Linked DNA regions of Homo sapiens: regions 1, 3 and 4 are each linked to region 2. The links are contacts of gene promoters, found by promoter capture Hi-C in blood cells and fetal thymus (Javierre and others, 2016). All regions are on one chromosome and are shown on one strand. Each heading gives the region's core, a stretch centred on a gene start or on the middle of the fragment in contact. The rest is flanking DNA. Distances are from core to core; before and after follow the strand shown. Region 1 has its middle 240 kb from the start of FAM76B. Region 2 holds the start of LNCRNA-IUR (lncRNA imatinib upregulated). Region 3 has its middle 190 kb from the start of FAM76B. Region 4 has its middle 260 kb from the start of FAM76B.

Region 1 (3,273 bases), core at 502-3,001, 400 kb before region 2:
TCTTATTAGTAAAATAGTGTTTGCCAGCCTATGAAAGCAATTAGTGATTCTCAAAGTGTGGTCTCTGGGCCACCTGCTTCCGAAATCATCTGGGGTGTTTTCTTCTCTTTTCTTTTCTTTCTTTTCTTTTCTTTTTTTTTTTTTTTTTTGAGATGGAGTCTTGCTCTGTTGCCCAGGCTGGAGTGCAGCAGAGTGATCTCAGCTCACTGCAACCTCTGCCTCCCGGGTTCAAGCAATTCTTCTGCCTCAGCCTCTTGAGTAGCTGGGACTACAGGCGCGCCCCCCATGCCTGGCTAATTTTTGTATTTTTAGTAGAGAAGGAGTTTCACCATGTTAGCCAGGATGATCTCGATCTCCTGACCTCGTGATCCACCTGCCTCGGCCTCCCAAAGTGCTGGGATTACAGGCATGAGCCACCGCGCCCGGCCTTGGGGTGTTTTCTAAAATGCAGATTCCTGGGTCCCACTTGAATCTTCTGACTCTATGGGGAATGGGGTCCAACAATCTGTTTTCCAAAGCATACCAGCTTATTCTAAAACACATTACAGTTTGAGGTCCAAAGAAATAGAAATTGTCAGAGACATAAGAGTGAATTTAAGAAAAAGAGCAGAGCAAATAATATGAGTAAGGCAGGTTGATTTAATTACTTCCTTTTATCAGAACTTTAGAAGTATATTCATCATAGATTTTCTCAGGTCGACTCCTGTAACTAGTTTGGTCATTCCTGAGTTTAGAGAAAGTATTCCTTTTAGATACACTCTTTTGTGTCCTAGAGAACCTGAAGTAACCTAGCTTAGTATGGATGGAAGAGAGTCATTTTAATGAGAAGACTCAATTTTAAAGACATGGATTTAGATTGAAAAGAGCTTAGCTACAGTCTGAAACAGCAAAGAGAAAATGCTTTCTATGTCCTAAAGGGAAAACAAACAAGCTAAAATAAACAAAATCAACAGCAACCAAAAACAAAGTAAGAACAAAACCTCTCTTTTTAAAAGCAGCTGCTGGAAGTTTGTACCCTTTGACCCAAATCTCCCCATTTTCCCTATCATCCAGCCCTTTCAGTTTTCTTTTTGTTGTTGTTGTTGCTTTTTTGAGATGGAGTCTAGTTCTGTCACCCAGGCTGGAGTGCAGTGATGTGATCTTGACTGACTACAACCTCCGCCTCCCAGGTTCAATTGATTCTCCTGCCTCAGCCTCCTTAGTAGCTGGAATTACAGGCGCCTGCCACCACGCCCCGCTAATTTTTGTATTTTTAGTAGAGACAGGGTTTCACTGTGTTGGCCAGTCTGGTCTCGAACTCCTGACCTTGTGATCTGCTGGCCTCGGCCTCCAGCCCTTTCAGTTTTAAGATGAATAAGTACTGGAGACCTAATATATAGTATAGTAACTACAGTTTAGAAATAATATTTTGTATATTTGAAATTTGCTGAAAGAATAGATCTTAGGTGTGTGTTCTTAACACACACACCAACATGCACACACACTAACTATGTGAGGTGACGGACGTTAATTAGCTTAACTGTGATGCATACATCGAAACGTTGTACTTCTTAAGTATGTACAATTTTTATTTGTCAATCTCAATAAAGTTGCGGGGGATGATACTTCTGAAAATGAAAGGTAAGAAGAATTCCATCTATATTCTTAAAGAAAAACAAAAGTTTAAAAAAAAATAAAAGTAGCTGCTAAATGTCATATTTTAGGATGTCCCCAGACTGCTATGTGTCTCTGTAATGTTGGTTCAAAGCAGGGAGCAGAAATTCTTCATTCCTTCTGTGCCTGGTGAGAGAGGATTAAGTTCAGTCCTTTCTGGGATTTGGGTCTCTGATGGACATAGTGGTGCATCACCTAGATTCCACCATAGAGATGACTGACTGACCCTCCCAGCTGCTGGGAATGCTACTGGCTGGGATACCCAGCATCCCTTATGGGGATTACCTCTGCTCGAGAGGGCTGTTTGGCCCAAAGTTGTGCCCCTTTCCAGAGCAGCTCACATTTAATGACTGCTCCAAGTAGAAATATAAAATCTTGGCTTCCTTATCCTTCAGGACAACCCTGAAGGGTCAGTCCAGCTTCAAAACTCCCTTTAGGGTTGGCTGCGGTCTCCAACGAAACTGAATCACAGCTCAACTTCTCCCCCCACACAATTCTTTCTTCTCTTCCCTTCTGCAGGTGTTGATCCCAATAGCACTCCTTAATAAACCTCCCACATATTTACCCTAGTCTTTTCTGGCTGCTATAAAAACATACCTTAAACTAGGTGGCGTATAAACAACAAGAACTTAATTCTCATAGTTCTGGGAGCCGGGAAGTCCAAAATCAAGGCACTGGCAGATTTGGTTTCTGGTGAGGGCTGCTCTCTGGTTCAAAGATGGTGCCTTCAGGTTGTGTCCCTCCCTGGTGGGAGAGGCCAGGCAGCAATCTGGGCCTCTTTTGTAAGACTTTCTAATCCCATTCATGAGTGCTCCACCCTGATGGCCTAATCACCTCCCAAAGTCCCCATTTCCTAAACATAATCACATGGGTAATTAGGCTTCAACATTTGAATTTTTGGTGGACACAAACATTTAGACCATAGTGATGCCCAACTCTATCTCAGAATCTGTTTCCTAGAGAATCCACCCATGTCTCCTCTTCTGTAGAGTCAGATTAGGGCAAGCATCAGGAGGAGGAAAGGACTCATTTATATCATTTTTTCCATCCCAGGCTCTGATCCTGGAGGTACATAAGCATGTTCCTGTTAGTCCATGAAAGGTTCTATCCTGTTATGGGAGTCTGACTGAAACTTCATTCTTTCCTTCAAATTATCTGAATGATTTCATCTGTCACTAGAATTTTACCCCTAAAGGACTTGTCCCAGAAATATCACATTGCTACTCTAATCACCATGTTAGACCTTTGAAATTAAAGATGATAGGGTTTTTTTTTCTGTCAGAGAATCAAAAACAGAGTTCCAGTTGATTAGTTGATTCATTCATTCATTTATTCATACATCCATTCAACAAATGTGTTTCGGGTGCCTATCATGTCTCAAGCGCTGATCCAGGCTGCTTTGGAACTAAAAACTTGGCCTGTTGAAGTCTACTTTCTAGACAGAAAAATAGAGAAGAGACAGAAAATAAATGCAAATAAATAAGTAAGTTGATTTCAGTTAGTGGTAAGGGTTATAGAGATAATAAAAGAGGATAATGTAATATAAAATTATTCTGGACAAGTGTATCAATAAAATCTTGGGCAAAGAAGCAATCTTTGAATAAATTTCTAGATGGGAAG
Region 2 (3,242 bases), core at 525-3,024:
CCGGCCTTTTATCCTACTTTCAAAAAACATACCCAGAGTCTGAGTGTTTCTCCTTACCTCCAGCGCCACTCCATGGCCCGAGCTCTGTTTCACCTGGTTCTCACCTGGATCGCGGCCTCCAATTTGCGCAGTGACCCCTACAGTCTATTCTCCAAACAGCAGCTGGCGTGGTCATTATGAAAAGCAATGTCCACCTGCTGCTCAAAAACCCACGAATGGCTCCCCATTTCTTTCCCATTAAAGCCAAAGTCTAAAACATTTACAAAGCGTTATATGATCAGTTCCTACCTGCTTTCCTTATGTTGGAGGCTGTGAAGCTCCTTAATATATAAACAGTTCTCAGGAGAAGGAATAAAAGCACAGCCACCTCCTCAGCAGAGCCAGTTTACACTCTGCTAGAGACAAGAGGAGCTGGGACCTTCTCCCCTAACCCTTACTGCATATGTGAGAGAAGCCAGACCTGCTGGATCGACTGGAAATGCCCAGTGCCTGAGACGGGGAGGAAAGAGAAGCCGTGGGGAGGAAAAGACTGTAAACCTAAAAGGCATTGAAGTCCCACCTCACCAGTTAGGCAGGGAGGAGAAAGAGGCCTAGGGCGCTCGGGAACTTGGAATAAGGTTGCCCTCTGCGGGTGAAACTGTGAAATATCTCACAGTGGAGGAGGGCGGAGACTGTTCGCAGAGGGGCCCGGCGAAAACGTCACCCTACTGGAGGTACGAACGCATCGCAGACTGGGGGCGCCCGAGCGCATCCCAGACGCGAGGGCAAAGGCCCAGGAGGACTGTGGGGCTCTCGGAAGTATCCGATCACCTTGCGAGGAGTCCGCCGGCTGTCCGAGCCTGATGTCACTGCAACTTCGATTCCTCCGACGCCCCTACTCTTACTTCCCAGTCTTCAGGCAACTTCTCCGCTTCGGCCTCCCCTAGGCCTTGGCCCCAGAGAGGGGACGCACTCCACAGGTGGATTCGCACGTGTGGGCCCTCGGCAGCACTTTCTCGTGCAAATTAACAGGTGGCCCTCATTGTGGAAGCACCGCCCAGCCTTTCCCGGGGAGGTCACCAGGGCGAGGCCGCTCAAGGTCTGCAGGCGCCCGGCGTTAGCGGGATCCTCCCCGCGCACTGGTCCGAGGAGGCCAGGAGAGGGCGAACCAGTCCCCGACCAGCGGCCCTTCCGGGGGTGGGCTCTGACCCCACCGAGCGGTTAGAGGGTCCAGGAGCTCCAAAGGGTAGGGCAGAATTGGGTAGATGAGGGTGCATTTTTCTGGGAGGAGTCTAAGGCGTCGCTGACTCTCAAAGGCCCGCATCCGGAGAAAGGGAAAGAGCCCCGTCCCGGGAGGAAGGACGAGAGGCTGGCCCGCGGGAAGGAGCCCTGGCAGTCCCTCCTGGCCTAGGTCTACCTCTTTGATCTCACCGTCCCCGTGGCGGCGAGTGCCACCAAAGATGAGAGAGGCCAGCAGGTATCGGGAGAGAGCTGAGGGGTCGGCGCCGGCGGGACCCCAGATTGGAGCCGCCGTCGTCGGACGGGCAGACCCTGCTGTAATAGCTCCCGGCCGGCCACGGTAGGCAGGTGGGGCCCACCGCGAGTCCTAGTGAAAAACACCTTCCTCTTGATTCTCTCAAAGGAACCCGAGCCCTGGGAAGGGACATCAAGGCGCTCCCGAGACTCCGGAGACGGCCAACAGCCCCAAAAGAGAGTACTCGGCTATCCAGCCGCCCTTATCCAAGCGGAGAATCTCTCTCCACCTCCGCCCTCCCGGGACTCAAAGTTGTTTGTGGAGCCTCCAGGTTTCCTTGTAGATGGGCACGATATGCACTGTGTGCGCGCGCGCGCACACACACACACACACACACACACACACACACACACACGTATATGTATTTTTCCAGTGGCCACTGCAGGATTGCCAGCTTTCGGAAATGAGCATCCGCTCTCTCTCTCGGGACTGGGCGTGGGGTTCACCGAAAGGAGAGGAAGAGACCTTGCGTTTGCGCTGGGCCTGCTCGATGCCAGGCCATTCTAGGCTTCTGTCTATCCTGGTTTCTGGTCTGTGCGTTGTGGGTAGCAGCATTGGCGTATTACGCCGGAGGGAGCAGGCTGAGCGAGGCTCCAGAAGGTGCGCAATAGCCGGAGAGGAAAGGGCGATGCTGTCACCTAGCCCCCTCCCTGAGACTCCATTCAGCCCAGAAAAAGGAGCTGCTTTCTCCCCCATCTACCCTAGGAGAAAATAAACGGTCGCTGGCATTTTCCTGCGTCTTTTAATTTTGCCAGAACTGTTTTGGGTTGGCTATTGTGGGCCAGGATGGAGGCCTTCTCCTCCCGGGAGCAAACCTGCCCACGCCCAGGCCGGCAGTGGAGTCAGCCTTGCCCCAGCCTGCCCTCCAGGGAAACAATGCCCCTTTGTCCCTCGCCCTCCCGGGGCTGATACAGCCCCTCCCCTTAGCTTAGGGCTCCCTCCCGTTAGAGCATTCCAATGATTGCCACAAGTCACACTTTTCTTTGAGGTCTCTGCCTGGGAAGAAAACAAAGCAGCCCTCCTAATCACACGGAGGGAGTGGAACTTTTCCTGCCCTCTGACTATGTGCCAGCCTTGGCTCCTCCCTGAAGCCCTGTCTAGAGGGCTTATTAGGTCACTTATGTTTTGTACCTCGTGTGAAGTCCCACAATCAGTAGATTATAGAGGGGAGCACAAACCCAGCAGTGTCTGACATAGAGAAATTACACATACATACATACACACATACATACATACATACACACACACACATACACACATACATATACATACATACATACATACATACACACACATACATACACACATACATACACACATACACATACATACATACATACATATATACATACATATATATAGTCTTTCCACCACCCAGGATTGAAAATTAATGCTGTTTTTGACATTGTCCGTTATCCACCCAAACCCTCCAAAAAGGCTGGCTGGCATTTGCTTGGCTCTAGTTCTACCTGCCCACCTTCTCCTTTGCCTAATCCTGAGTTTTCCCCTTCCCCACGTGTGTTCCCCTTGAGCACTTTTTTGCTAACTTCCTGCATGCTACTGTCATCTCAGAGACTGATTCCTGGGGAGCCCAACCTGTAACATGGAGCTCAGTGGAAAGCACATGGAATGTGGACTGAGACATGACTGTGTTCAAACCCTGGCTCTGTCGCTAAGTGGTTACTTGGTTTGGGGCAAGGCATTTAATCCCTCTAAAGTTCACTTTCAT
Region 3 (3,075 bases), core at 287-2,786, 450 kb before region 2:
TGGGTTTTGTGATTTGATTTTATCAGTCCCTCTTTATTCTGTATAAATGTAATTTATTTGTTCAGAATATGAATGCTTCTATCAGTGTTTACAAAATCAATGTGGAACACCCTCAAGCTTAAACTCACCTTTTAGAAGCTGCATTGTCATCAGGATAGTGTTATTCTTAGCAAAGACCCATCTTTCCCTAAAAAAGACCTCAGAGATTATCTGATTATCTGAACATACCTTGTATCTTATTACCAAAGCTTCTTCTCCAGATACAAAAATGTTGTTCTTGTAAGAATATTATTTCCAAAATAAGGTTTATCTTGTAAAGAAGACCTCCTTTGCTCCACTCAATATTCATTGAGAAGGTAATGTGAGGACCTCATCCTCAAATCTCCTTAAAGAAGGGAAATATTTGTGGTTATTGTTGACTAAAGACTGTAGGAGAATTCACATTGTTCAGAAGCTGTTTTGATCCTTAAAAATGTAGTGGATATCCATAATAATGATACGCTGAAAATAATACTTTATTATTTGTTTTTACTCTACAAACATTTGATAAGTTATGTGCTGACTGTTGATATGGTCTGAATGTTTGTGTCCCACCAAAATTTATACGTTGAAATCCTAACCCTCATGATAGTAGTATTAGGAGGTGGGAGCTTTGGGAGGTTGTTAGGTCATGGAGGCAAAGCCCTCATGAACGGCGTGAGTGTCTTTATGAAAGAGCCAGAATGAGACCCTTCACTATCTCCACCATGTGAGGACACAGCAAGAAATAGGCAGTCAAATCTGGAAGACAACCCTCATCAGAACTCAACCTCATTGGCACCCTGATTTCAGACTTCTAGCATCCAGAACTGTGAGAAATAAATTCCTGTTGTTTCTAAGCCACATAGTTGATGGTATTTTGTTAAAGCAGCCCAAATGGACCAAGACAGGTGCCCTCTCTGTGCCAGGTAAACTGGGATATAATTTGAATAAAGGATATAATCTCTTAATAAATCAATCAATATTTAGAGACTATGTCTGCTAAGAGGAATAAAAAAACAAGGAAGGAAGAAAAAAAGAAAGGAAAGAAGGAAGGAAAACATATGAATTTATTGCCTACTATGTACAGGGAGCTCATGTGCTTTTCTACATTATCTCCCGAATGCTCTCACAATAAGCCTGGAAAGTCTATTATAAAGTTTAATATATAAACAGATATGCTAGAGGAACATACCACACACACACACACACACACACACACACACACAAGCACACACCACACACACATATACATACACTCTTCCAAGTTAATTGAAAAAAGTATACAAAAGCAAATATATCTATATATATGTCTACACAACACCACACACATTCACATATACACACATACATATATTTTACAAGTTAATGGAAAGAGCATATGTGTATATATGTAAATATATATTAACTTGAAAGAGTGTGTGTGTGTGTGTGTGTGTGTATTAAAATATAGTATTTAGTGTACAATGAATAGGGCAGACAGAAATTCAGGAGAAAGCTCATTAATTAGAGAATAGAAAGAGATAACATACTAATGTTTTTGAGTAGCAGGAACTTCACGTATTTTATCTTATTCTACTTTCTAAGTAACTCTGCGAGGGAGGTATTATTATTCTCATTTAGAAAAGTTGAAACACAGGTAGTTAATGATCACCTAGGAATTTAAATTCATACCTGTGTGATTCTAAAACACTTTTTCATCCTACTTCAGCAAATGTCAAGACTTAAGGGTGCCCTTAAGGATGGTTGAATGTAAGTACTATTTAATATTTTCAGATCGTATTTAGCATCACTTAGGAAGTTTAATATATAAAAGGAAAATTGGGATTTCCTTTCATCATCCATTCATTCAACAAGTATTTATTGAATTCCTACTTTAGGCCAGGCACAGAGTAGATAGGATTCACCTCTTCACCAGACATAGTCCTTGCGTTAGGCACTTACAGTGCTGGGGATTGGGGAGAGAGAACATAGACCGTGGAAGTACAATGCAGTAAGTACTGTGATGGGAGAGTACTGTGTGCAGAGGTGTACATGGATGGATCTGTATCCAGGCATCAGAATTCCTGAAGACTTCCAGGACAGCTTGCTGGGACAGGAGAAATGAGCACATGCTGGCCAGATGAGTGGAGGCCAGGAGCAGAGGTTGTGTTGGTGAAGGTGGTGGGGATGGTGGGGTGGGTGGGAGATGGAAATGTTCTAGGCAGGGGGATCTAGTTGTATGAAGATGACTGATGTCATAGGAGACTCAGATGGCCTGACACATTGTCTAATACTTGTTGGAACATGGGTGGGTAGGCAGAGAGGCAGTTATTGGATAGGAGAATAATTGGGGAACATAATCCAGTAATTACTGTAGGAGCATGAGATGAGAGTTATTGACCCAGAAATTCCCTGTAAAAGGGCTTTCTCTGTCCTTTCAGTTCCCAGAGACAGATTGTGCTGATGTCCAAGGGAAAATGTGTGCTTTTATCCTCATATCTAAGTAGGTCAGTATTTGCTAACACTCAAGGAGTCTGCATTATTTCCCATTCAGCTAGAACATTGTGCTAATGAGGAGCAGGTCATAGATTTAATCCCCTTATGGGCCTCTTAGCTTCACTGCATTCTGTAGCCACAGACAGCCCCCTAACCCTGGGCTGCACTTTCTCAATTGCCAGTTTCTGATGAGAGAAACCTAGGGAAACTTTTTGGACAGATTAAAGAAAGCTCATCACCACTCAGTCCCTCGCAGGGGTGTGACTTCCAGTGAATGTTCCACTGACAGTGGGTAATCAATGTAATTGTGGTTTTCTAAGAAAGCTTGAAACATTTAGTGTTACTGCCACTAAACCTCTAACCTCAGCTCCTGTGGAAAATTTGCAGCCAAGTGGCTACAATCGACTAATATTCTCTTCTTATTCCTCTTCAGAGGAAACTAAAAAATATCTATTAAGCATCTAGTGAATTGGTGGGGGTGCTGTTGGGGGTCCTACTAGTTGCTGTAGCAAGAGAGCCAGAGACACCCTCTCTTGTGCATTGACGTTTAAGTTTAAATACCATATATTTATTCAGGAA
Region 4 (3,230 bases), core at 174-2,673, 380 kb before region 2:
TCCCACCACTCACCTCTTCCCACCTTCCTTAAACCTTGACAACTACTAATCTGTTCTCCATCTCTTTAATTTTGTCATTTGAAGAATGTTATATAAATGGAATCATAAGCCATTTACATTTAATGTACTTATTGCTATGTTAGGACTTAAGATAGCTATTTTATTTCTTTTTATCTCTTTTGTTCTTTCAGTTTTTTACTTCTCTATTCTTTCTCCTGCCTTCCTATGGATTACTTCAACAGGTTTTAGAATTTCATTTTGATTTATCTGTAGCATTTTTTATGTATCTTTTGATACAGATTTTTGGTGGTTGCTGTAAGCGTGATATCATACACATGTAACTTATCAAAGTCAACTGATGTCAACACTTTACCAGTTTGAATAAAGCATAGAACTCTTATCTGCTTTTAACTACCTTTTACCCTCCCCTGTTTACAATGTAATTGCCTTAAATATTTTTCTACCTATACTGAGAACCACATCAAAAATTGTTATAATTTTTGCTTTAATCATCAAGCACAATTTAGAAAACTCGAGAGAGGGAAGACTGTTGAATGTATTAAGATTTTTAGATCTTTTTGTTTTTTCTTCTTCCTTCCAGATGTTTGAAGGTTCTTTTAAAAAGTCCTTTCCTTTCTGTTTCAAGAACTTTCTTTAGCCATTCTTTTGAAATAGGTCTGTAGTGACAAATCCTTTTAGTTTTCATTTCTTTGGGAAAGTTTCATTTTCTTTTCATTTAGAAGCATATTTTCACTAGATATAAAATTCTGTGCTGATAATTCTTTTATCTCAGCACTTGAAAAATGTTCTAATTCCTTCTGTCTCCCATAGTTTCTGATGAGAAATCCATTGTCATTGGAATTACTTTTCTCCTGTAGATAACATGTCTTTTCTCTGTCAGTGCTTTCAATACTCTCCCCTTGACTTTGGTTTTCAGAAGTTTGAGTGTGATGTGTCTTGATAGATTTCTTTGAATTCATCCTGTTTGGAATTTGCTCACCTTCTTGAGTCTGTAAGTTCAAGTCTTTCCCCAAATTTTGGAAATATTCAGCCATTATTTCTTTGAATATTTTTTTATCCCTACCATCTTCCTCCTTTTCCTGTGTCCAGTGACAAATGTTAGATCTTCTGTTATAGACCCACAGGTCTCCAAGGGTCTGTTTATTTTTCCCTCCTTATTTTCTCTCTGTTGTTCAGATTGGGTAATTTCTACTGTCCTACCTTCAAGCTCATTCTTTCCTTTGTCCTCTCCATTATTCTGTTGAACCTATCCATTGAGTTTTTATCTTACTTATAACATTTTTTAGTTCTAACATTTCAATTTGGCTCTACTTTATACCTTCTATTTCTTTACTGAGACTTTCAATTTTTTCCAATTGTTGCAAGCATGTTCATAATTGCTCACTGAAGCATTTTTCCGATGGCTGCTTTAGATTGCCTTTCAGATAAGTCCAACAACTGTGTCATCTCAGTGTTGGTGTATGTTGGCTTATTTTTCTCATTCAAATTAAGATTTTCTTGGTGTTTTGTATAATGTGTGATTTTTAAATTGAAATCTGGACATTTTTAGTATTTTGTCACGAACTTCTGTATCTTAATTAAATCTTTTTCTTCAGCAGGCCTCTTCTGACATTGCTCTGGGAGGGAAAGTGGTGGGGTGAGCATGGGGGGCGCTTCCTCATCATTGTCACATGGGAGTGAAATTCTTCCTCTTACACTATCTTCCTCTTACACTATTCTTCCTCTTACACTATCCTAGATGGGAGAGGTAGAAATGCCTTGTTAGTGCCAGATGTGGTCTCCATGTGGCCTCCACTAAAACTGTGTTGGGGATTTGGGGGAAGGTGTCTCATTATCATGGGATGGAAATGAAAGTCTCAGCTCCCTACTCTGTCTTCTCTGATACTACAGGGTGGGAGGCGGTTTAAGAGTGCCATATTACAGACAAGCAAGGGTGGAAATCCTGGCTTCCCAACTCTGCCTTTGCTGATGAGGGTGAGGCTGTGTGCTTTCTCTACGGTGTTTGACTAGGAGAGGATGGATTTTGTCTAAAAGTTTTCTGTCTAGCTAGGCTGTTCCTTTAGCTAGAAACGGCATGCTTTTCTTGGGGCTTTTGTTGTTGCTCACATTGGCATTTCCAGGCTGCTAGCTTCTTGGTTTCATGTCCAGGATATATGAGACAAAAAGAAAACCCAAGAAACTCGCCATGTTAGATCTCCAGTTTCAGGTCCCTAGCCAGTCTGCTATCTTTGCCCCACCTTTGAGCCTTCGCATGTTTATTTTATACATAATGTCCGGAGTTTTTGCTTGTATTTAACAGGAGGAATATAGAGAAGTATATATATCCACTCACTTGGTTTTATCCTTAGTATTTTCAGAGCTAATAATAACAATAACGACTGCTATGTTTTTAGTGCTGTTTACATGGCCAGTATCATGCTAATTTATTTACTTATGACAGTAATCTTATGAGGAAGGTACAATAATTACTAATGCCATTTGATACACGAAGAAACTGAAACTCAGAAATAATCCATGTAAACATTTAGAACAGTGCCTAGCACATATACTAATAAAGGCTAGGGAATATTATTGTTAATTATATTTTTAGCATTGTTAACTTGTCTGAAGGACCTAACTAATAACAACAGAGTTAGAATTCCACCCCAGTACAGTCTAAACTTGTAAACTGTAGGCAGTAATTTCTCTCAATTTGACTGAAACCACTGGGATTACTCAATTTCTACCGCATCTCGCATTATATCTTTACGCATCTCACTTATGTTACCACCACTGTTTTCTTTTCGGTTTTTTGTTTTGTTTTTGTTTGTTTGTTTGTTTGAGATGGAGCCTCACTCTGTCGCTCACGCTGGAGTGCAATGGCGCATTCTTGGCTCACTGCAACCTCTGCCTCCCAGGTTCAAGTGATTCTCCTGCCTCAGCCTTCCCAGTAGCTGGGATTACAGGCATGCACCACCACGCCTGGCTAATTTTTGTATTTTTAGTAGAGACAGGGTTTCACCATGTTGGCCAGACTGGTCTGGAACTCCTGACCTCAGGTGATCTGCCCGCCTTGACCTCCCAAAGTGCTGGGATTACAGGCATGAGCTAGCACACCCAGTTCTTTTCTTTATCTATAGTTTTCAAATTTCCTTCAATTTATAACCTGATAATAAAATAACTAATGTTTATGTAATATATATGGGAATGACAAAATGCTCTTACATTAA

What was found. The method cuts DNA at HindIII sites, captures the fragments that hold promoters and counts their contacts. A CHiCAGO score of 5 or more calls a contact.
Region 1: a contact is called between a fragment that was not itself captured here and the fragment with the promoter of LNCRNA-IUR in region 2, in 1 of 17 cell types (total CD4 T cells). The highest score is 5.0, in total CD4 T cells.
Region 3: a contact is called between a fragment that was not itself captured here and the fragment with the promoter of LNCRNA-IUR in region 2, in 5 of 17 cell types (activated CD4 T cells, M2 macrophages, total CD4 T cells and 2 more). The highest score is 8.7, in activated CD4 T cells.
Region 4: a contact is called between a fragment that was not itself captured here and the fragment with the promoter of LNCRNA-IUR in region 2, in 1 of 17 cell types (neutrophils). The highest score is 5.2, in neutrophils.

The regions. Positions count from the first base shown.
Region 1 is chr11:95,550,228-95,553,500 of GRCh38, reverse strand. No RefSeq gene overlaps it. Among named protein-coding and RNA genes, the nearest start is that of FAM76B, 240 kb to the left of the region's middle. The HindIII fragment of the contact is 6,834 bases long and covers 1-3,273 here.
Region 2 is chr11:95,149,071-95,152,312 of GRCh38, reverse strand. LNCRNA-IUR (lncRNA imatinib upregulated) reads right to left here and starts at 1,774. Exons shown (of 3, transcript NR_110303.1): 1 at 565-1,774. RefSeq lists a silencer at 545-654 and enhancers at 1,175-1,304, 905-1,446, 1,447-1,988. The HindIII fragment of the contact is 7,632 bases long and covers 1-3,242 here.
Region 3 is chr11:95,599,836-95,602,910 of GRCh38, reverse strand. No RefSeq gene overlaps it. Among named protein-coding and RNA genes, the nearest start is that of FAM76B, 190 kb to the left of the region's middle. The HindIII fragment of the contact is 2,572 bases long and covers 251-2,822 here.
Region 4 is chr11:95,531,870-95,535,099 of GRCh38, reverse strand. No RefSeq gene overlaps it. Among named protein-coding and RNA genes, the nearest start is that of FAM76B, 260 kb to the left of the region's middle. The HindIII fragment of the contact is 8,164 bases long and covers 1-3,230 here.